Linked DNA regions of Homo sapiens: regions 1, 2, 4, 5, 6 and 7 are each linked to region 3. Evidence: promoter capture Hi-C in human tissues and cell types (Jung and others, 2019). All regions are on one chromosome and are shown on one strand. Each heading gives the region's core, a stretch centred on a gene start or on the middle of the fragment in contact. The rest is flanking DNA. Distances are from core to core; before and after follow the strand shown. Region 1 holds the start of CCR10 (C-C motif chemokine receptor 10). Region 2 holds the start of RAMP2 (receptor activity modifying protein 2). Region 3 overlaps BRCA1 (BRCA1 DNA repair associated). Region 4 holds the start of COA3 (cytochrome c oxidase assembly factor 3). Region 5 holds the start of EZH1 (enhancer of zeste 1 polycomb repressive complex 2 subunit). Region 6 holds the start of AOC2 (amine oxidase copper containing 2). Region 7 holds the start of WNK4 (WNK lysine deficient protein kinase 4).

Region 1 (2,839 bases), core at 99-2,598, 430 kb before region 3:
CAGGGAGACACTGGGTTGGAAGGCCCGGCTGAAGGCCTGGACATCGGCCTTGTAGCAAAGCTCCGGCAGTGGCTCAGCCGAGTATGCGTCCTCTTCATCCCCAGAGTAATGGCCCCAGGAAACCTGGGAGGGTCAAATGAGAGGCGGGATCTTATGAGACACATCTGACCACACAACTCCCCCGCCCACACTTGCCTTCCAAGCTGAGAGCTCCTGTGTGGCCAGATGTAACAGTACACGGGGAGACATAAGCTCTTCTCCAGACTCTTCCTAGCACACCTTCAGCAGGCCTTGGCTTCCCTTGCACCCCTCCTACCTCTGCTTCCAGCTTCCTGGGTGACCTTGAGCAAGCCACTTGCTCTTTCTAGACCTCAGTTACCTAACCTGTAATGTTGAGATTATAAATCCTGACCAGCCCACCTCTCAAGGTTTGCTGTGAAGATGGCAATATGGAAAATAATGGATGGGGAGAACCTGTGTTCTCCAAAGGCCATAATACAAAGTTTGTATTATTATTATTATTTATTATTATTATTATTGGAGACAGAGTCTTGCTCTGTCGCCCAGGCTGGAGTGCAGTGGCACGATCTCGGCTCACTGCAACCTCCGCCTCCGGGTTCAAGAGATTCTCCTGCCTCAGCCTCCCAAGTAGCTGGGACTACAGGCGCCCACCACCACGCCCAGCTAATTTTTGTATTTTTAGTAGAGATGGGGTTTCACCATGTTGGCCAGGATGGTCTCGAACTCCTGACCTCAGGTGATCCGCCCACCTTGGCCTCCCAAAGTACTGGGATTACAGGCCTGAGCTACCACGCCCAGCCCAAAGTTTGTATTATTAATAAATCCTACAGCTTCAGTTCCCTTTGCAGCGCCCTCTCCTGGAAGGATGCCCATATGCAGGCTTTGCCTCAGACCTGAGCCCTGGACTCCAACCTCCGTCTGGAGTGGGTTTCTGTTTCTCTTCTTTCCCTTCCATACCCACCTTCCCTGTACCTCCAATACCAGCACACTGAACCACTCATGCCAAGGGGGTCTCCAGGGTTGGGACTCAGGTTTTCAGGGCCCAGGTGGGACCCTGGACCTCTAGGTTCAACCCGCCTTTCCCCTCAGCCCTAGTCCCTGTCCCACAACCCCAGCCTCACACCACCAGCCCATTTATCTGGAGGACCCCTAGTCTGAGACAGCGCCAAGAATCCTGAATAAGCCATAGGATGGCAGAGGCCCATTGCCAGGTGGGGAATCCCATTCCTTCCCTGTCTCCTCCCTCTCTGTAACCCTTCTCCCCCTCCCTGCCCCCACTCCCACCTGCTCTGTGGCCTCCGTCCCCATCTCTGGCTACACAGGTTTCTGAGGTATAGCCACAGGGGGTAGAAGTTAAACTACTAGCGGGACAGGAAGGAAGAGGCGGGGAGAGGGGCCGAGAGGGAGGTGGGGATTAGGGTCTACGGGGTCACTTTCCCATTCCACCTCCTCCAAAAGACTTCACTCTCTTGTGCAGGATCTGGATTTTACGAAAAAAAAAAAAAGAAGAAGAAAGGAAGGAAAGAGGAAAGAAAGAAAGAAAGAAAGAAAAAAAGGAAGGAAAGAAAGAAAAAAGAATGAACGAAAGAAAGAAAAAATAATTTACTGTCTTTGTCAGTGAAGAAAGAACGGGCTTCGGAATATAATCATTTGCTGTGTGATATTGACTAAGTTTCTTGACCTCTCTGAGCCTGAGGTTTTTCATCTGCAAAGTGGAGTAGGGCAAAAATGCTAAATTCACAGTGCCCAGCACCACTCCTAGAGCATAATTTGCCTTCCGAAAATGTTAAGATTCTTTTACTTACCCTTCATTCCATTTCCAGGCACCCCTCCCCCAAACCACCTCCCTTTTCTTGAAATTTTCAGGATGCTTCTGGCCCTAGGTTCCCTGTCCTCACTCCTGTGGCCCTAGTCCCGGGCAGCCTCGGGTTACTTGGGGTTTTCCCGGTGGCGAGAGGCTCTCTACCCCCGCCCTTTCGCAGCAGGGCTGAGGCACGCGCTTGCGCGGGGTCCGGGAAACCGGCGCGTGCCAGGAGACAGAGGCTGGGGAAGGGGGGAGGTGAGAGGAAAGAGGGTGGAAAGGAGAGGATAGAGAGAGAAGAGCGGAGGACCAGGAACCAGAGAGAGAGAGAGAGAAAAGAGAGAGGAGAGACAGAGCGCTTGGGGGCGAAAGGAGAGAGGGAGGGAAGGGTGGGTAAGGAGGAGAGAGCGGTCTGCTGCAAACCCCAGGAGGAGAGCTTGGAGCCCAAGCCAGAACTCGAGCCCTAGCCGGAGCCGTTCACAGGGAGGCGGCTGCCGGGACCGTCAGCCCTGCATGATGCATCTCCGGCTCTTCTGCATCCTGCTCGCCGCGGTCTCAGGAGCCGAGGGCTGGGGCTACTGTGAGTGTTGGGCTTGGAGGCAGGTGGGGTTGGGCCCAGGAGTCCAGAGCCTGCAGGGCGGCCCCGAACCGCATTGCGGCTGGGTGGTCGCGGGTCCTTCCCGGCCGGCGCGCGCCCGCTGGCTCTCATCTTTTCCTGCCTCTCCCCCGCGCTCCGCATTGCAGCTCTGAGGCTGCCGCGCGCGCCCGGGGCTGGGGCTGGGCTCTGGGAAGAGGATGAAGTCAGCGGGCAGGGATTTGGGGTTGGGATCCAAGCAGGAGCTGGTGCCTGGGTTTGAGGCTAGGGCTGGGGGATAAGTGTATACTGGTGACCGATACTAGGATTAAGGTTTTGCCAGGGCTTAAGGCTGGACTTTGGAGCTGGCCAAGGGGTGGGGTTTGTGGCTAGGGCTGGGGTTTGTGGCTGGGGCTGGGTTTTGTGGCAGGGATCCAAGCAGG
Region 2 (3,230 bases), core at 413-2,912, 350 kb before region 3:
TGCTTTCTGCACCTCCTTGCTCCTTCCTCCCATCTTATCACTCAGAAATCTCCCATGCTTCCTTCTTGAAAGGAGCAATCCTAGGCAGGCAGGAAGGACTAGATTTGGTCCCAGCCTGAAATGTCTCAGAGACTGCATGGCTCTTTTCTGCATCATTGTAGAAATGATCCTTACCAGGAGGACTTTGGAGTTCACGTCAAGCAGGCCATTGACTCTCTCCCACTGGATTCTTTGCAAAAGCAGCCTCTTGACCATAGAGGAGGACAACAGGTTATCCGTGCCCATGATCCAAGAGCTTGAGATCCTGAGATGAAGACTTCAGGAGAGATCAGGACAGATAATTTGTGGTGGGCAGGAATCAGTAAACTGGGACAACAGCAGCAGCTGAGTCCAAGGGTCAGTGTCTGGGAGTAATTTAGGAAAGTTTGGTGCTGACAGCTGTGTCTGGGACTTGAACGTCATGGCCAAACCAGCTCCTGGGCTCCTCAGCTGCTTCAGACTAATGAACCTCTGGCCCAGGACACAAGAAGCAGCTGTGGTGTGGCTGAAGTCAGGACCCCCGGAGGCCCAGACTCAGCCTTGCTGCTTCCTTAACAGTGTGACCTTAGATAAGTCACTTAGGAAAAGAGGAAAGGAAACTAGCATTTAGCGAGTGCAGTGCCCTTTCACAGCTGCCATCATACAGTGAGGAGGGGAATGTCCCTATTTCACATGAGAAGTCCTGAAGGTAAACGTGTCATTCAAGGCTCTATAGCTGGGGAGTAAGAAGACAGAATTAGAACCCAGAGCTTCTGAATTCAAATCCCGGGCTGTTGGCCCTGAGCTTTAGCTTCTCGGTCTGTAAAATGGTGTTACACTCACCTGGCACATGAAGTCGCACACTGAAGGTTCTAAAACCCCTCCATTCTTTCTCCCAACCGTGGTCCTGAAGAGCTGTGGCACCTTCTTCCTGGGAACGTAGTCATCGTATTTTGCCCTCCCCACAACAGGTTTGTGGGGTCTAGGCCCCAGGAGGTGTCTGAAGGGAAGGTATTTGGACTTTGCTTTCCCCTCTACCCCACTCCCCAGACCTTCTCCCGACTCCAGAGGGCTGGCTCCCGCTTCTCCTCCCTGGTTTTGGCTGGCGGACTGACATCAGCTGGTATTCCTAGGGATAGGATAAGGAACCCTGAGCTGCATGGCTCAGCTCCAGGCGCCCCTTCCCCCACAACCCAGGACAGCCCCTTAGAAGCAGCGGCGTCGAGAGGCCGCTGGAGCTCCCAGCCCCCTCCCTCTTCTCCACGTCTGGGAGAGCAGCTTGCCGACCCCTCCAGACCCGAAAGAGAGAGGGGGCGACTCGAATTCGGGGAGCGATCCTGGGAGACCCTGGAGAGTCCTGGGCGCCACGCAGCCGAGCCCCCGAAATAGATCCCGGTTCCGGGGTTCCGGGAGCTGTCCAGCCTCGCGGGGTGAGCTACGAGAGGGTGGGCCAACGCCGGCGAGGCGGAGGGAGCCGCGGGCGCCAGGCGCGGGTGAGGCAGCGACTCCCCCTCCAGCCGCGGGCCCCGAGCGTCGCCCCCGCCCCCCACGTGGCCGCCGCCGTCCCAGCCCCTCCGAGGAAGCGGCGCGGCTTCCTGCAGCTTGGGCTGGGGATATAGGCGCCCCCACACCCGGGCCCGGCTCAGCGCCGCCGCCGCTCCTCGCCTCCTTGCTGCACGATGGCCTCGCTCCGGGTGGAGCGCGCCGGCGGCCCGCGTCTCCCTAGGACCCGAGTCGGGCGGCCGGCAGCGCTCCGCCTCCTCCTCCTGCTGGGCGGTGAGCGCGGCGCCCCGAGGCCCGGGCGGGAGGCGCGAGAGGCCCCGGAGGGGAGAGGGGAGAGGGGAGAGGGGCTGGATGGCCGAGGCCGGAACGGGCCCTGGGGTGCGGGTTAGGACCGACGTACCTAGCAGCACTGGCCCTCGGACGGTCCCTGACCCCACCTCGGGGCGGGCGCAGCATGAGCTGCTTCCCACCCAGGGAAAGCTGGGGTGCTGGCCCCGGCCCCTCGAAGAGGGCTTAGGAGGACGGAAGCTGGCCAGAGATGAGGGGGCTTTGGGCCTGGGTGTGAGTGACAAGGAGCTGGTGCCAGCCCCTCCCTCCCCGGCACTGAGGCGTCCGTGGGGGCTAGATTATTCCTCCTTTTCTTCCAAGGTAGCCTATTTTCGGAGGGTCTCAGTCCCCCAACCCCCCTCGCAGGCTCCACTGCCGGGGTCCCCGCTATGTTACCCTCCTCTCCCGTTTCTTCCCACAGCTGTCCTGAATCCCCACGAGGCCCTGGCTCAGCCTCTTCCCACCACAGGCACACCAGGGTCAGAAGGTGGGTACCCAGGGTGTGGAAGGGTGGCCGAGGGTAAGGACGAGAGCAAGTTCAGTGGGGAGGGTTCCTTTCCCACGAGGCCTGCCCAACCCCAGCTGATGCCCCACTACACTCCCCTCTGTTCTTTCTTGGGGTTCCTCGTGGTCTTTCTCCCTGTCCTCCTACAAAGCCCCTGCACGGCTCTGAGCTGCCCACCTCACAAGTGGGCGAGAAGACCCCAGGAAAAGGTGTACGTGGAAGTTCTTATCAGGCTGGGATGGAAAGTGCTTAGCACATGGAAGTCATTATAGGATTCCTGAGCTGGGACTCTGTCCTCAGCCAGAATGTTTTGCTAGGGAAACTTTCTGAAGGGTTCCCACGTTTGAAGACAGGCAGTTCACCTTGCAAGCACCTGGGCAGGAGGGTTTGTAGGGAGGGGTAGGGGTGTGGTCATTGTGTAGCATCTGTACCTACAGGGGGGACGGTGAAGAACTATGAGACAGCTGTCCAATTTTGCTGGAATCATTATAAGGATCAAATGGATCCTATCGAAAAGGATTGGTGCGACTGGGCCATGATTAGCAGGTAGGGGCAGTGATGGAGGGTGGCTCAGGCCAGGGGGTGGACCTGCTCATTGCAGGTAGACCCTGAGTGAGAGTGGGGCACTCTTCTCCCTGGGTCCACCCCCTCTCTCACTCAAGTCCTCTTCTGCCCCTAGGCCTTATAGCACCCTGCGAGATTGCCTGGAGCACTTTGCAGAGTTGTTTGACCTGGGCTTCCCCAATCCCTTGGCAGAGAGGATCATCTTTGAGACTCACCAGATCCACTTTGCCAACTGCTCCCTGGTGCAGCCCACCTTCTCTGACCCCCCAGAGGATGTACTCCTGGCCATGATCATAGCCCCCATCTGCCTCAT
Region 3 (2,972 bases), core at 308-2,807:
AAAAAAAAAGACAGGGTCTCACTCTGTCATCTAGGCTGGAGTGCAGTGGTGTGATCATAGCTCACTACAGCTTCGAACTCCTGGCCTTAAGTGATCTTCCTGCCTTGGCCTCCCAAAGTGCTGGGGTTATGGGCAGGAGCTACCACACTGGGCCCTTGAGTCCCTGTAATAATAGTATAGTATGTTCAGCATTTGTTACTCAAGCTGACAAGAAAACATACAGTTCATTCCAGAAAGATTCTCATCCAGATAAATTGAAAGCCCCAGGGCTTTAAAGGTTAATCTTTAGCTCTCTGTAGTAAATACTGGGACTTTTTTTTTTTTTTTTGAGTCTCCCTCTTGTCGCCCAGGCTGGAATGCAGTGGCATGATCTTAGCTCACTCAGATGAAAATTATGGACTATCTTCCCAGAAAAATGTACATGGCCATAGTTTTGAATACAATTTAAATATAATTCTAGGAAATTCATAAAGACTATTCATAAACCCCAAGTTAAGAACTCTGGAATTTAAAAATTCCTCAAAGGATACATAAGAAATTGATCATTGTGGTTGTCTGGGGAGGGAACAGGGAGGCAGGGGTTGTAGGGTAAGAGGGAAGTATACTTTGCATCATATACCTTTTTGTGCTAATAAACTTTTTACCAAGTACATAGTTTGTACCTGGTACCAGGTTATGTACCAGGTACATAAATACTTAAAAACAAATTAGTTGACATTTAAGGTAAGATGTGAGCCATAGCTTAACATAAAGAAAAGGAGAAAGCCCACTTGTTCTACTAAATTACCTACTCTACTTTTTCTGAAATTCTTTTATTAAGAAACAAACATTTTCATTTCAAAAGACAAGATCATCAAATACGTAAATATAACTTGAATCACTGCTATAAATGAATTTTGGCCTAAATAGAAACTGGTATCAGGTCCTTTCCTGTCTTCACAATGATTACAAAGCGGGCAAACACTGACCCTTAGAAGGGGGAATGCATAAGGATATGCAGAAATGAACAGAAAGGAGAAACTGGGAAGGCTCAAACACAATGTGCTTATTTCAAAACTGCTTGCAGTTTGCTTTCACTGATGGACACAAAAAATACAAAACACTGTTCAAAATGATGTTACATCCTAATAGATAATATATGTCAGTCGGGTGTGGTGGCTCACGCCTGTAATCCCAGAACTTTGGGAGGCCGAGGCAGGTGGATCACAAGGTCAGGAGTTCGAGACCAGCCTGGCCAATATGGTGAAACCTTATCTCTACTAAAAGTACAAAAATTAGCCAAGCATGGTGGCGGGTGCCTGTAGTCCCAGCTACCTGGGAGGCTGAGGTAGAAGAATCGCTTGAACTCGGGGGGCGGAGGTTGCAGTGAGCCAAGATCATGCCACTGCACTCCAGCCTGGGCGACAGAGCGAGACTTTGTCTCAAAAAAAAAAAAAAAGATAATATATGTCAAAACTTTACCAGGAACTATGATTACAACCAACTTTTGATAACTATATACTCTCTGAGAAAGAATGAAATGGAGTTGGATTTTTCGTTCTCACTTAATTGAAGAAAGTAAAGCTTCTATAAAGTTAGGTGTTTCCTGGGTTATGAAGGACAAAAACAAAAGCTAATAATGGAGCCACATAACACATTCAAACTTACTTGCAAAATATGTGGTCACACTTTGTGGAGACAGGTTCCTTGATCAACTCCAGACTAGCAGGGTAGGGGGGGAGAAAAAGAAAATAAATGAGGCTCAATAATTTATTTAAAAATAAAGCTATTCTTAGTGAATAAGTTCAACTTTGAGCTGTTATGACTGAGTCAACATAAGGCCTCAAGTTCGTTCAATATTTATTAAATGTCTGCTGTGTCAGGAACTGAGAATACAGCAGAGAATACGATCCTTACCTTCAGTGAGCTTTCAGATATCAAAACAGAATTATATTGATCCCTTCAATACTCTATACTATCATCAGCATTTAAAAGATTAGTTGATAATAGTTCGTACGAATTCATTTCCAGTGATATATTTTTCTGCACTATCACTGTGGGTGCACATCTCATCTTTAAGCTCCATAAAGACAAAATTTTCTGCTTATATTTCTTTTGAATTCCTTCCTAGAACTTTTTTTTGTTTACTGTAAATGCCTTTTTAACTTAATATGGAAAATTTCAAGTATTTCAAAATTTCAAGTAAATAAAATAATAAAATGAACTATATGGACCATCACCCTGGTCCAACAACCATCAACTCATGGCCAAGCTGTTTCACCCATATCCACCCCTACCCCAGATTATTTTAATTATTATTACTTTTAAGATAAGGTCACACTCTGTCACCTAGGCTGGAGTGCAGTGGTGCAAACATACCTCACTGCAGCCTTGAACTCCTGGGCTCAAGCAATCCTCCCAGCACGGGGTTTACAGGCATGAGCCAACACACCCAAACCCAAGTGTCTTCTTTTTTTTGAGATGGGGTTTTGCTTTTGTAGCCCAGACTGGCATGCAATGGTGCGATCTCGGCTCACTGCAACCTCTGCCTCCCAAGTTCAAGTGATTCTCCTGCCTCAGCCTCCCAGGTAGTTGGAACTACAGGCGTGCGCCACCACGCCCGGCTGATTTTTCGTATTTTTAGTAGAGTTGGGGTTTCACCATGTTGGCCGGCTGGTCTTGAACTCCTGACCTCAGGTGATCCGCCTGCCTTGGCCTCCCAAAGTGCTGGGATTACAGGTGTGAGCCACCATGCCCAGCCCCAAGTGTCTTCTGATCTATAGGTGTCTCTTACTTTTTCTCCCTTGTCATTTATTTTTAAAATTAGGTCATTTGACCTGTGGAGTTTCCCCCATTCTGGATTTTGCTGATTGTATAACCCTATGGTGAGGTTTAACTTGTTCCTCTAGCCTTATTTCCTATAAACTAGACTTACAGGCTTAATCATTCAGGTTCAACTTTCTGGCAAGAACACTTTACAGATGGTACTGTGT
Region 4 (3,006 bases), core at 218-2,717, 320 kb before region 3:
ATCCACTTGACTAAGTTAGGATCCCCTCCAGACCCCACCCTAGACCTGTATAGGCAGGTACCAGGGAAAGTTAAAAGAATGAAGACTGCTTGTCTTTCACCCTTCATCCACCTCTCTCTCCCTCCCTCTCTCTGGGGATGGGAAAAGCAGTAGAGTTACAGTATGTTCTTGTGGGTAGAGGACAGAAGAGTGACCTTCCTTCCCCTAAGACGTGGGTTCAGTCTCAAACTGCCCAGTGATCTCTCCCTTAAATCAGGTGGAAAGATCTCATGGAAAAAGTAATTCTAGTTAAACATTTACAGCTCCCTGGGGCAATGCCACCACTGCAGCTACTGCTTGTGAAGCTTTCCAGCATGAAGTGCCATATGCTGCCTCTCAGCCTCCATACTCACTTGACTCCAGGAGAATGACTCAGTTTATTATTCTCAATTTGACCCTATGTATCCCACTGTAGGCTCAAACACTGCACAGAGCTGCCACGTCTAACCTCGTAACAACTGCGTCCCTGGAAGGTGAAGGGGGTAAACCACAAAGTCAGAAACTTTGGGAAAAGCCACGGTCGCATGCACACCTCTCAAACAAGGAAACAAACTACAAGAAAGGGCTCAGTCATTGTACACAGCAAGTGTGCAGTGGGCAAAGTTCTGTTCTTTTGACATTGGCCAAATGCGTAAGTCCCTGGTTTCTTGGGCTCAATCACGGTCCAAGGTTAGTAAGAAGGCCAACAATGTTGTGAGCAGGATTCAATTTCTACAGGGTCATGGGGCATCATCCACCATGTGAAGGGGCTCCAGCAGGTTGGACATGATCAATACCCATCCAGATTAGGACCCTGACGCCCTTGCCAGAGCTCGGGCTCGGGCAGCTTTGGCCTCGTCTTCTAGCTCATCTAGGAAACGCTCCTGGGAAATCGAGTAGAAGGTGTAACCATCTGGGGAGGTAGGTTCAGGAAACCACACAGAATATGCACATTCCCCTTTCCTAGATTTGCTCTACCACTCTTGTTACTCTCCCAAATCAGTGATTCCGGCTTCCCGCCGCTGCTGTTTCTAAACCCTGAACCCCAATTCCGTTATTATTAATAAATCAAATTAAAAGAGTACCTTAGGAATAACAAAGGAAAGTACTACCCATTTTACCCCAAAATTAAACGGGTGGTTCAGCCCTCTTGCACACTCTGTTCCCCTGCCCCTATATGCGGTCCCCTTGAGTCTACAACACGGACGGATACAAATAGCCAACACCAGGGCCCCGATGCCTAGGCCGGTCACGATGTTCCGGGTTCGCCGCCGTGGTAGGACCTTCTGCCACTGGGCAAGCTCCGCCTGCCGCATGGAATGCAGTTGCTCGGGTGTCAGCTTCTCCCGAGTCGGGTCGATACGCTGAGCGAACGGGGCCTCTCCACGCTTAGAATCCAGAGGGTCACCAGCTCCCGAAGACGCCATGTTGCCACTCCTCCCTTCGCGGTGCCGCCGCGCGGGCCTCGCTGGGAACAGTAGCCCTTGGCCGCTGCAGTGGACTCTGGGAGTTGTAGTCCGCGTGCCCTTTGCGGGGCAGAGCCGCGGTTCCCGGGCACAGGGGATGGACGCGGGAGGTGAGAAGCGGACGTGCTTTCTGATTGGCTGAGGAGTCCGTGGCCGTTGGGGCGGGAAAAAGCTGTGGAGGGTTCGAGGCTGTGGTGGTAATTGGGTTTTCCTCAGACTTGAGGCGACGACACACTCATTGGAAGGGGACGAGGAATCCAGGGTGTGGCAGAAGACTGGAGAGGAGCTAAGGGGGTCGGTATGTGGATCCAGTGAACCCGTCCAGGTGCCCCAAGAGGCTCGTGAATATGGACGGACCCATGAGGCCACGATCGGCCTCCCTCGTTGACTTTCAGTTTGGAGTTGTCGCCACAGAGACGATTGAAGACGCCCTGCTTCACTTGGCCCAGCAGAATGAGCAAGCAGTGAGGGAGGCTTCGGGGCGGCTGGGCCGCTTCAGGGAGCCCCAGATCGTGGGTGCGGCTGCAGGGCCGGGGTGCTGGGTTCTTGGGAGACTGGGGCTTGTGTCTTTCAGGCACCGACCTTGAGATTCCGTTGATTTTATTCATTCAGAGAATGTTTGCTAACACCTCTCTGTGGGGTGCTGGGGATATAGTGATGGATAAGTCACAACAGTGCCCTCCCCTTGATTTCTTCGACATGTATGGAATACTTGAGTGGCACCGCTTGGCTAGAAAGATGAAATAGAGGGCCAGGCATGGTGGCTTACACCTGTAATCCCAGCACTTTGGGAGGCTGAGGTGGGAGGTTCACCTGAGGTCAGGAGTTCGAGACCAGCCTGACCAACATGGTGAAATCCTGTCTCTACTAAAAGTACAAAAATTAGCCAGGACTGGTGGCGCGCACCTCTAATCCCAGCTACTCGGGAGGTTGAGACAGGAGAACTGTTTGAACCCAGGAGGCGGAAGTTGCAGTGAGCCGAAATCGTGCCATTGCACTTCAGCCTAGACGACAAGAATGAAACTCCGTCTCAAAAAAAAAAAAAAAAAAAAAAAAAAAAAAAGGCTGGGCGCGGTGGCTCACGCCTGTAATCCCAGCATTTTGGGAGGCTGAGGCGGGCAGATCACGAGGTCAGGAGATCGAGACCATCCTGGCTAACATGGTGAAACCCCGTCTCTACTAAAAATACAAAAAAAAGCCGGGTGTGGTGGCGGGCGCCTGTAGTCCCAGCTACTCCGGAGGCTGAGGGAGGAGAATGGCATGAACCCGGGAGGCGGAGCTTGCAGTGAGCTGAGATGGCGCCACTACACTCCAGCCTGAGTGACGGGTGACAGAGCGAGACTCTGTCTAAAAAAAAAAAAAAAAAAAAAGAGAAAAGAAAGATGAAATAGAGATAGAGGTCTTGCCTTCAAACCATGTGCAATTTGGGGGAGATATTAGAACAAATATGCAATGACTAGGTACTATGGTTAGATAAGAGACGTCAGAGAGAAATAAAACAAGCGTTTATGGGGGTTGAGAG
Region 5 (3,140 bases), core at 440-2,939, 370 kb before region 3:
AGTAGAGATGGAGTTGTCCCATGTTGCCCAGGCTGGTCTCAAACTCCTGGGCTCGAGTGAACGGTCCACCTCAGCCTCCCAAAGTGTTGGGATTACAGGCATGAGCCACCGTGCCAGGCTTTTTTTTTTTTTCTTGAGACAGGGTCTCAGGTGCTGTCACCCAGACTGGAGTGCAGTGGCAGGATCAGAGCTCATTGCAACCTTGACCTCCCAGTCTCAAGCAATACTCCTGCTTCAGCCTCCCAAGCAGCTGGGACTATAGGAGAAGGCCACCACATCTGGCTATTTTTTTTTTGTAGAGATGAGGTCTCGCTATTGTTGCCTGAGCTGGTCCCAAACTCCTGGGCTCAAGCTATTCTCCTGCCTGGGCCTCCCGAATGCTGGGATTTCAGATATGAGCCACCGAGCCCAGTCTAAAGTACTTATCTCCTAACACACACTCTCTCCTATGTAAGTAATCTCTTTTATCAGTGGCATATCTGGGGATTCCAAGACTTAAAATAGACAAGCTTTCACAGAAACCTCTAATAGGGTTAGCACCTTCTCAGGCTGGAAACCTCCTTCAATATCAGTTTCCTAAATTTAAAAAACATGGGGTGTGGGAATTTTTTTATTCAGCGGCAGTATGGCAGCAAACGTGGAGGAGACTCGCGTTTTCATTGCCATCCTTGCACCCACCTAATTGTTAGTGTACCTGAGCTCCTTTGCTTTCATCCTCCCCTGCCAAGCGTCAGGTTCCTATCGGCCTGGGCTACATCACATACAACCCTGTATTTCACCCTCCATATTCCTTCACATTCCACGGGGGGCACTAACATCCTTCAGGTATCCCTTCCCTTCCCTGCTCAAGAAACAATTCCTCAGTAGTCACTTTTTATTGAAATAAAAGTTTGTCCCACATTTCCTAACAGGCATGTCCCAAATACAACACCTTGTCTGTGCTTCAAGGCACTTTTATTTATATCATTTGATCCTCGGTTGAATGGTGGGGGTGAGCGATCATTGGCGTGAGACCAAAAGTCTGGAGTGAAGGAGATTCTTGCTCAGGGCCAGGCCTGGGGTGAGGCGACCGAGGCACCCAGGACGCACGTGAGGAGGCGCTCACTGCACTTGCGCGACCCTGAGTCAGTGCTCCTTTACACTTTGTGCCTTGGGAGCCTTACTCACCTCACCCTAGTCCCGGCCTTGTTTTTACTGCTACCCCTCCTCAACATCCCCGAAAGCCATCGCAAGATCAGCCCCGGTCTCTAGCCCTCCCCAAGCACAGCTCCAGGTCCCCAGAGTCCACCTCGCTAAAGGCCCCCGCAGGTGCCACCGCCCTCCCGCGCCCTTTGGGCGCTGGGGCTCCCGCCCACCGGCCCACACCGCCATCCAACGGGATTCCCCGTCCCCGAGCCCGCCCCCGCCGCTCCTCCTCCCGGGCACACAGCCCTCGCAGCCCCAGACGCTGTCCTCGCCTGGGTCTCTCTCGCCCCGTCGCCCCCATTCCCCCACCCTCGGAATGAGGAGGGGCGCCTGCTACCCCCGGCCAGGCAGGCAGTGTGTCCCTCGGATTCCTTCCAATTTCCTGATCCCTCCGCCTCTCCCTCCCTCAGGCCCAGGGCGGCGAGGGGAGGAGGCCCGGCCCCACCGCCCGGCCCAGGCTTGTTTACTCACTCACCCTCCATCCCGAGCCGCGGGTCCCGCTGCTAGGACGCATGCGCGCCGCGGCCCCACCCCTGCGCCGTGCCCCGCCCCGCGCCTCCTGTCGGCGCGTGCGCATTGACTTACCCGTGCCGCGCGGACGCACTACTGTCATTTGCCGCCAAAACCCCGCACTCAGGAGTCCTGGCGGGTGCAGCCTCCCAGACGGCTTCCAAAGCGGCGCTGGCAGGGGAGGGGAAGGGCTCTGGGGAAACCTTCGCAGAGCCACTAATATCTTCCTGAAGACCCTATTCAGCGGATTTGCCATCCCCACGCGCTGGTGACAAGCCACATCTCACTTCAGCGTTTGAAGCCAACCCAGATCACCTTCATACCGATGCTTCACCCCTACCAGTTCTCCAGACACCGGTCTATGGGTTCTAAGCCCTTTATTTATGTCTGATCTCCCTATTTCTGTTCATAGTTTTCTAGTCACTTAGAATCAAAATTATAGCCTTGTATCGAAATAAATCCCCACAAGACACCTGCTAGTTACAAAGGGAAAAAAATAGCAACTTTACAGATAAGAATCTGTCAGACACCACCTTAACTAAGTGATCAAAGTTAGCATCACTAGTGATAAGAGGTATTGTTTTCTTCTTCTTTTTTTGCCGGGGGGCGAGGCTGGACGGAGTCTCGCTTTGTTACTTACACAGGCTGGAGTGCCGTGGCGCGATCTCGGCTCACTGCAACCTCTCCCTCCCGGGCTCAAGCAATTCTCCCGCCTCAGCCTCCCAAGTAGCCAGGAATACAGGTTCGTGCCACCACGCCCGGCTAATTTTTGTATTTTTAGTAGAGATGGGGTTTCACCGTATTGGCCAGGCTGCTGTCAAACTCCTGACCTCAAGTGATCTGCCTACCTCGGCCTCCCAAAGTGCTGAGATTACCGGCATGAGCCACCACGCCCGGCCTCCCTCTTCTTTTTAAGGAGACAGGGTCTTGCTGTGTTGCCTAGGCTGGTCTTGAACTCCAGGGTTCAAGCCATCCTCCCACCTTGATTTCCCAAAGTGTTGGGATTACAGGCATGAGCCATTGCCCCCAGCTGAGAGGTATTCTTACCAGGTCCCTCTGAACATGATGCAATGAGAAGCGCACAAAATCACTTCTGTGGTATTCTTGACGAACACGCATAAGCTGATTTTTTGTGCGTGTTGTTTGTTTGTTTGTTTTGAGACAGTTTCACTCTTGTTGCCTAGGCTGGAGTGCAATGGTGCAATCTCGGCTCACTGCAATCTCTGCCTCCTGGGTTCAAGCGATTCTCCTGCCTCAGCCTCCCAAGTAGCTGGGTTTACAGGCATGCACTACTATACCCGGCAAATTTTGTAATTTTAGTAGAGATGGGGTTTCACCATGTTGTCCAGGCTGGTCTCGAACTGCTGACTCAGGTGATCCCCCCACCTCTGCCTCCCAGTGCTGGGATTACAGGCATGAGCCACAATGCCCAGCCTGCATAAGCT
Region 6 (2,903 bases), core at 303-2,802, 270 kb before region 3:
CATTTTAGTTGGGCAGTGCTCCCACCCACCCTCCAGATCCCTTCCAGCTAAAACCCTTCCCCCTTCCCTCCATGTGTTTCTCAGTTTCCCGTTTCGTTTGTTGGACTGTTCCACTGCCCCTCCTCCTCACCCTATCACCCATGGATCGTAATGTAAAATTCTTTTACCATGTCAAGAAATTATTAAAAATACAGGTACTTTGACCTCTTTCTAAAGCCGCAGACCCTGGTGCAATGCTCTGGTGGCTAGGGATGTACTCATGCTCATATGTGTGCACGCTTGGACACCCACCTCCATGGACACCTAGCCACCCTGTTGTGTGTCCTTATGCCAGTTGAGCTGAATCTTTTCCCCAGTATAGTGGAAAGACTGAGGCTTCTGCCTACTGAGCAAGGTTGGGTGCTTCATTTGTGTTCAGTCTGAATTATGGGAAAGTTAGCTCTTCCCAGACCTAAGCTGCCTTCTCTCCCTACTTTCAGAAGATCCTAGTTCCTTCCTTCCCGAGTGATACCCATGAACTGCCAGTAGAGGCTGCTATCGTTCCATGTGTAAGGAATGAACTGGTTCAAGGCGCGTCCTACCCAGTCATTTTCTTTACCTTATACTAATTCTTCCTGAATAATGTCTTCAGTTTCTTGAGGAGACTCCTAGTTTTGGTTTTCAAATTACTTGGAGGGCTGCCTAGGAATCTATCTCCCTCTGAAATAAAGTTTCCTCATCTTCCACCTTGCAAGTAGCCTTCTGGTTTCCAATGATCCCCTCGTTGTCTCTGTAAAAAGAGTTTAAGGTCTTGAACAATGGAGGAGCAGCTGCTCTGTTCTGTTTCAGAGATGACTACCAAAAGCTAGCGGTTTGTGAGTGCCTCCCCTGTGCCAGGCTGTTAAGTACCTAATGTGCATGATCACATTTAATCTTCAGGAATCTATAGGATAGTTGTATCTATTTGTTACAGATGAGGACACTGAGACTCAGGATAAGTATTTCCGCTAAGGTTACACAGCTGAGGGAACTGGGATTGGTGGACAAACCTGATTACTAAGCCCAGGCCCTCAGCCACTCCACTGGTTGGAAATGGCCTGACTACAAATCAAGGGCTTGGCATTAGGCAACAAGTAGAATTCAGTGCTTACTGCTGAACATGGCAGTGAATCCTGGAGCTGTTGGGATGCAGTTCCTGCCAGGAGGTAGGAAAATGGACAGCTTAGTGCTTGCATGCAGGCTGCAGAACTTAATTGGGCATCTGAGGTTTGTACTCTTCCTGAGACCCATTCCAGGTGGAAACTGGAGGTTAGCATCGTTAACCCAGATTCCCTTTCATCTGGTCTAAATGATGGAAATCAGTAGTTGGTACTGACTGCTACCAGTGGGAGTTCAGGGGCAAGGAAGAGGCTATGCATGTGGAAGCAGTGCCCTGGGCCAAACCACAGGACAGAAAATTGGAACAGAATTACATAAATCAAGGTCAGAAATTTCCTGCCCAACCCATGGGGTGGAGTTTTCTCCCTTCCTATCCATCCTAGCGAATATAAACCCCGACTTGATGTCAGTAACTGGAAGGAGCAGCTGTTAGAATTCTGATTTCAGCTCTCAGCATCCACCATGCATCTCAAGATAGTCCTGGCGTTCCTGGCACTGTCCCTCATTACCATCTTTGCCCTGGCCTATGTTTTGCTGACCAGCCCAGGTGGTTCCAGCCAGCCTCCCCACTGCCCCTCTGTATCCCATAGGGCCCAGCCCTGGCCACACCCTGGCCAGAGCCAGCTGTTTGCAGACCTGAGCCGAGAGGAGTTGACAGCTGTGATGCGCTTTCTGACCCAGCGGCTGGGGCCAGGGCTGGTGGACGCAGCCCAGGCTCAGCCCTCGGACAACTGCATCTTCTCAGTGGAGCTGCAGCTGCCCCCCAAGGCTGCAGCCCTGGCCCACCTGGACAGGGGGAGCCCCCCACCTGCCCGGGAGGCACTGGCCATCGTCCTCTTTGGTGGACAACCCCAACCCAATGTGAGTGAGCTGGTGGTGGGGCCGCTGCCTCACCCCTCGTACATGCGGGATGTGACTGTGGAGCGTCACGGCGGGCCCCTGCCCTATCACCGTCGCCCGGTGCTGAGAGCTGAGTTTACACAGATGTGGAGGCATCTGAAAGAGGTGGAGCTACCCAAGGCACCCATCTTCCTGTCGTCCACCTTCAACTACAATGGCTCTACCCTGGCAGCTGTGCATGCCACCCCTCGGGGCTTGCGCTCAGGGGACCGAGCTACCTGGATGGCCCTCTACCATAACATCTCAGGGGTTGGTCTTTTCCTTCACCCCGTGGGGCTGGAGCTACTACTGGACCACAGGGCCCTGGACCCTGCCCACTGGACTGTCCAGCAGGTCTTCTACCTTGGGCACTACTATGCAGACTTGGGCCAGTTGGAACGGGAGTTTAAGTCTGGCCGGTTGGAAGTGGTTAGAGTCCCTCTACCTCCACCAAATGGAGCTTCATCCCTGAGGTCTCGGAACTCTCCAGGTCCTCTTCCCCCTCTTCAGTTCTCGCCCCAGGGTTCCCAGTACAGTGTGCAAGGAAACCTGGTGGTATCCTCCCTCTGGTCATTTACCTTTGGCCATGGGGTGTTCAGCGGCCTGAGGATTTTTGATGTTCGGTTCCAGGGTGAGCGAATAGCCTATGAAGTCAGTGTCCAGGAGTGTGTATCTATCTATGGTGCCGATTCACCCAAGACGATGCTGACTCGCTATTTGGATAGCAGCTTTGGACTCGGCCGTAACAGCCGAGGCTTGGTGCGGGGAGTGGACTGCCCCTATCAAGCCACGATGGTGGACATCCATATATTAGTGGGCAAAGGGGCAGTCCAGCTGCTTCCAGGGGCTGTGTGTGTATTTGAGGAAGCCCAGGGACTGCCCCTTCG
Region 7 (2,868 bases), core at 149-2,648, 340 kb before region 3:
TGGGTTTCTCACACCCCATATGTCTGTCCCTTGGATAGGGTGAGGCTGAAGCACCAGGGAGAAAATATGTGCTTCTTCTCGCCCTACCTCCTTTCCCATCCTAGACTGTCCTTGAGCCAGGGTCTGTAAACCTGACACTTTATATGTGTTCACACATGTAAGTACATACACACATGCGCCTGCAGCACATGCTTCTGTCTCCTCCTCCTCCCACCCCTTTAGCTGCTGTTGCCTCCCTTCTCAGGCTGGTGCTGGATCCTTCCTAGGGGATGGGGGAAGCCCTGGCTGCAGGCAGCCTTCCAGGCAATATGAAGATAGGAGGCCCACGGGCCTGGCAGTGAGAGGTGTGGCCCCACACCGATTTATGATATTAAAATCTCAACTCCCACTGCCTGCCTCTTAAATTACTACAGTACTGGAATGGGGATGGGGAGGGCTGTGAAGTGTTGCCACCTGAGTAAATCCCAGCCTGGGAGAGGGGAGAGAAAAGAAAGCTTATGGCTTTTGTAGAAGAAAAGGTCCTCCAGGGCCCTGTGGGCTCCAGTGAGCCTGTGGTTTTACATCTGCTGGGTGGGCTGTGTGGAGGAGTGCTGATGGAACACAGCTTGGGGACAGACTGCTTTCTCTCTGAATTGGAGTCACTTAAGGGCTCCCCCTTCCCTCACCATCTCCCTCATGGAAGTCCTGAACTACTCTGAAGCCCCTCCCTCCACCCATCTGGTCTGGGTGGGGTAACTGTGGCCAAGGGGAGCTGAGGGGGGTAAGCCGGATGTGGACTTTGGTTTATTGGAGACTGGCAAACAGAAGGGGAGGAAGGAGAGCCCATATAGCAAAAACAGCCACTCTGGCCAGGGTTAGGCTGCGGCCAAGGTGGCCTGGAGGGGATGGATGACCGGGCTCTCGGTTTGGGGGAGGGACTTATCCTGGGGAGTACACACCCATTCCCTATGCAGACCAGAGGGACAACAACGTCAGACCTTTCCACTGACCTCTCCGTTCGGCCTGGGGCTACTCCGGACAGTTAGGAGGGGGTGGTGCTGCCTTATCTGGGGTGTGCAGGAGGGTGGTAGCCTCCCCCTAAGTAATCCCCCACTAGGGTCCGGGTGTCGTTCTCTCCTGCCCTCCTCCGCGCACAAACAGGTTTGCTCACTCTTAGTGCGGGAGGATGCTCCGCGGTCTCCCACTCAGTTCTGGCCTCAGAGTGAGACTGCGGCCGGGGGCTCGGGAAAGAAGGGGACGCGGCTGGGCGGGGCGGTGACTAAGGTGAGGGGCTGCTCGCGGGATCCGCACCGCGGGAGCAGCTCGGAGGGGCGGCCCTGGGGGGCAAGGGCGGGCCGCGGGGCGGCGACGGGGGCGGGGCCAGGCCGAGCTGGGGGCTGGGGCCGCAGCCGCTCAGCCGGAGCGCAGCGCACCCAGCGAGTCCGTCTGTCAGGCCGCCTCCTCTCCGGCCGTCTGATTTTCTACCCTTCGGCGCCCTGCTCTTCCTCATGTTGGCATCCCCGGCCACGGAGACCACCGTCCTCATGTCCCAGACTGAGGCCGACCTGGCCCTGCGGCCCCCGCCTCCTCTTGGCACCGCGGGGCAGCCCCGCCTCGGGCCCCCTCCTCGCCGAGCGCGCCGCTTCTCCGGGAAGGCTGAGCCCCGGCCGCGCTCTTCTCGTCTCAGCCGCCGTAGCTCAGTCGACTTGGGGCTGCTGAGCTCTTGGTCCCTGCCAGCCTCACCCGCTCCGGACCCCCCCGATCCTCCGGACTCCGCTGGTCCTGGCCCCGCGAGGAGCCCACCGCCTAGCTCCAAAGAACCCCCCGAGGGCACGTGGACCGAGGGAGCCCCTGTGAAGGCTGCGGAAGACTCCGCGCGTCCCGAGCTCCCGGACTCTGCAGTGGGCCCGGGGTCCAGGGAGCCGCTAAGGGTCCCTGAAGCTGTGGCCCTAGAGCGGCGGCGGGAGCAGGAAGAAAAGGAGGACATGGAGACCCAGGCTGTGGCAACGTCCCCCGATGGCCGATACCTCAAGTTTGACATCGAGATTGGACGTGGCTCCTTCAAGACGGTGTATCGAGGGCTAGACACCGACACCACAGTGGAGGTGGCCTGGTGTGAGCTGCAGGTGCGGCTGGGAGCCCCCTCGGTGGCACCTTGGGATGGGACTCTGGAGGTCTTAGGATGACAGACAGAGGGTGGGGGAGACAGCATCAAGGGAAGCATGTATTTTTCCAGTCAAATGTCTATAGACACCTCTGCTGTCTTTGCCCTGAATGATCTGGCTGACTCTGGGCTGCAGAAGGAGAGATTGAGGCAGGTGGTGTCTGGTGACTCCCCCATGGGTATGAACATTCTCACTTTAAAGTCTCCATACTCAACCCTGAGAGGTGGAAAATAGGATGGGAAGTTAGGCAGGGGAGCCAGTTCAGGTCAGTTTCCTGCTGGTGGGTACCCGCAATCCCTTCCTCTCCCCTAAGTCCTGAGATCCTCAGTTATGACCCTGGTCCTCTTGATCCCCTCACTCCTCCCGTCCCCCACCTATTTGCAGACCAGGAGGCTGGGATGCGGGAAGCCAGGAGCTGGGCAAGGGTCATCTCCAACTCCAGAAGATTTAGGGCAGTTGTGGCAGAATAGGGCCCCCTAACCCCTTCTGGAGCAGTCAGACTTCTGGACTTCTCCACAGCTGCGAGGAGGGGGACATAGGGAGCTCCAGCTCTCGAGTGAGTCCAGTTCTGCTCCTCATCCCACTGCCTACCTGTGCTCTCCCTTCCCAGACCTAAAGGCACTAAGCCCATGGGCTTTAGGGGGACCTTCCTCCCATTGCTCCCATGCTACATATGGGTTAGGAGAACCCAGTCAACTTGGGGCCTGAAGCTTCCGATTCAGAT

What was found. Contacts are between HindIII fragments. The study calls those that stand out against the background at their distance.
Region 1: the fragment with the promoter of CCR10 here is called in contact with a fragment that was not itself captured in region 3 in 2 of the 25 tissues and cell types used here (lymphoblastoid cells and mesendoderm cells).
Region 2: the fragment with the promoter of RAMP2 here is called in contact with a fragment that was not itself captured in region 3 in 3 of the 25 tissues and cell types used here (aorta, dorsolateral prefrontal cortex and hippocampus).
Region 4: the fragment with the promoter of COA3 here is called in contact with a fragment that was not itself captured in region 3 in 2 of the 25 tissues and cell types used here (adrenal gland and lymphoblastoid cells).
Region 5: a contact is called between the fragment with the promoter of EZH1 here and a fragment that was not itself captured in region 3, in 1 of the 25 tissues and cell types used here (adrenal gland).
Region 6: the fragment with the promoter of AOC2 here is called in contact with a fragment that was not itself captured in region 3 in 6 of the 25 tissues and cell types used here (H1 embryonic stem cells, dorsolateral prefrontal cortex, heart left ventricle and 3 more).
Region 7: a contact is called between the fragment with the promoter of WNK4 here and a fragment that was not itself captured in region 3, in 1 of the 25 tissues and cell types used here (lymphoblastoid cells).

What each region holds. Positions count from the first base shown.
Region 1 is chr17:42,680,495-42,683,333 of GRCh38, forward strand. CCR10 (C-C motif chemokine receptor 10) reads right to left here and starts at 1,349. Exons shown (of 2, transcript NM_016602.3): 1 at 1,306-1,349; 2 at 1-123. The coding sequence starts at 1,329. CNTNAP1 (contactin associated protein 1) reads left to right here and starts at 2,037. Exons shown (of 24, transcript NM_003632.3): 1 at 2,037-2,402. The coding sequence starts at 2,336. RefSeq lists enhancers at 1-351, 1,570-2,188, 2,132-2,181, 2,442-2,491 and a silencer at 737-1,031. The HindIII fragment of the contact is 6,302 bases long and covers 1-2,839 here.
Region 2 is chr17:42,759,565-42,762,794 of GRCh38, forward strand. RAMP2 (receptor activity modifying protein 2) reads left to right here and starts at 1,663. Exons shown (of 4, transcript NM_005854.3): 1 at 1,663-1,794; 2 at 2,270-2,335; 3 at 2,791-2,899; 4 at 3,033-3,230. The coding sequence starts at 1,698. It overlaps RAMP2-AS1 (RAMP2 antisense RNA 1), which reads right to left and starts at 1,693. Exons shown (of 6, transcript NR_024462.1): 1 at 1,316-1,693; 2 at 1,071-1,147; 3 at 862-949; 4 at 175-316. RefSeq lists a silencer at 1,777-1,866. The HindIII fragment of the contact is 24,962 bases long and covers 1-3,230 here.
Region 3 is chr17:43,114,079-43,117,050 of GRCh38, forward strand. It overlaps BRCA1 (BRCA1 DNA repair associated), which reads right to left. Exons shown (of 23, transcript NM_007294.4): 3 at 1,648-1,701. Among named protein-coding and RNA genes, the nearest start is that of BRCA1, 9.8 kb to the right of the region's middle. The HindIII fragment of the contact is 5,789 bases long and covers 1-2,972 here.
Region 4 is chr17:42,797,237-42,800,242 of GRCh38, forward strand. COA3 (cytochrome c oxidase assembly factor 3) reads right to left here and starts at 1,468. Exons shown (of 2, transcript NM_001040431.3): 1 at 1,232-1,468; 2 at 389-931. The coding sequence starts at 1,445. The coding sequence ends at 825. It overlaps CNTD1 (cyclin N-terminal domain containing 1), which reads left to right and starts at 1,625. Exons shown (of 7, transcript NM_173478.3): 1 at 1,625-2,000. The coding sequence starts at 1,832. RefSeq lists enhancers at 1,151-1,220, 1,361-1,410, 1,431-1,480. The HindIII fragment of the contact is 12,523 bases long and covers 1-3,006 here.
Region 5 is chr17:42,743,351-42,746,490 of GRCh38, forward strand. It overlaps EZH1 (enhancer of zeste 1 polycomb repressive complex 2 subunit), which reads right to left and starts at 1,690. Exons shown (of 21, transcript NM_001991.5): 1 at 1,661-1,690. RefSeq lists a silencer at 1,268-1,847. The HindIII fragment of the contact is 12,026 bases long and covers 1-3,140 here.
Region 6 is chr17:42,843,028-42,845,930 of GRCh38, forward strand. AOC2 (amine oxidase copper containing 2) reads left to right here and starts at 1,553. Exons shown (of 4, transcript NM_009590.4): 1 at 1,553-2,903. The coding sequence starts at 1,600. It overlaps PSME3 (proteasome activator subunit 3), which reads left to right. Exons shown (of 11, transcript NM_005789.4): 11 at 1-733. The HindIII fragment of the contact is 18,620 bases long and covers 1-2,903 here.
Region 7 is chr17:42,779,212-42,782,079 of GRCh38, forward strand. It overlaps WNK4 (WNK lysine deficient protein kinase 4), which reads left to right and starts at 1,399. Exons shown (of 19, transcript NM_032387.5): 1 at 1,399-2,105. The coding sequence starts at 1,488. It overlaps VPS25 (vacuolar protein sorting 25 homolog), which reads left to right. Exons shown (of 6, transcript NM_032353.4): 6 at 1-388. RefSeq lists an enhancer at 1,472-2,429. The HindIII fragment of the contact is 5,514 bases long and covers 1-2,868 here.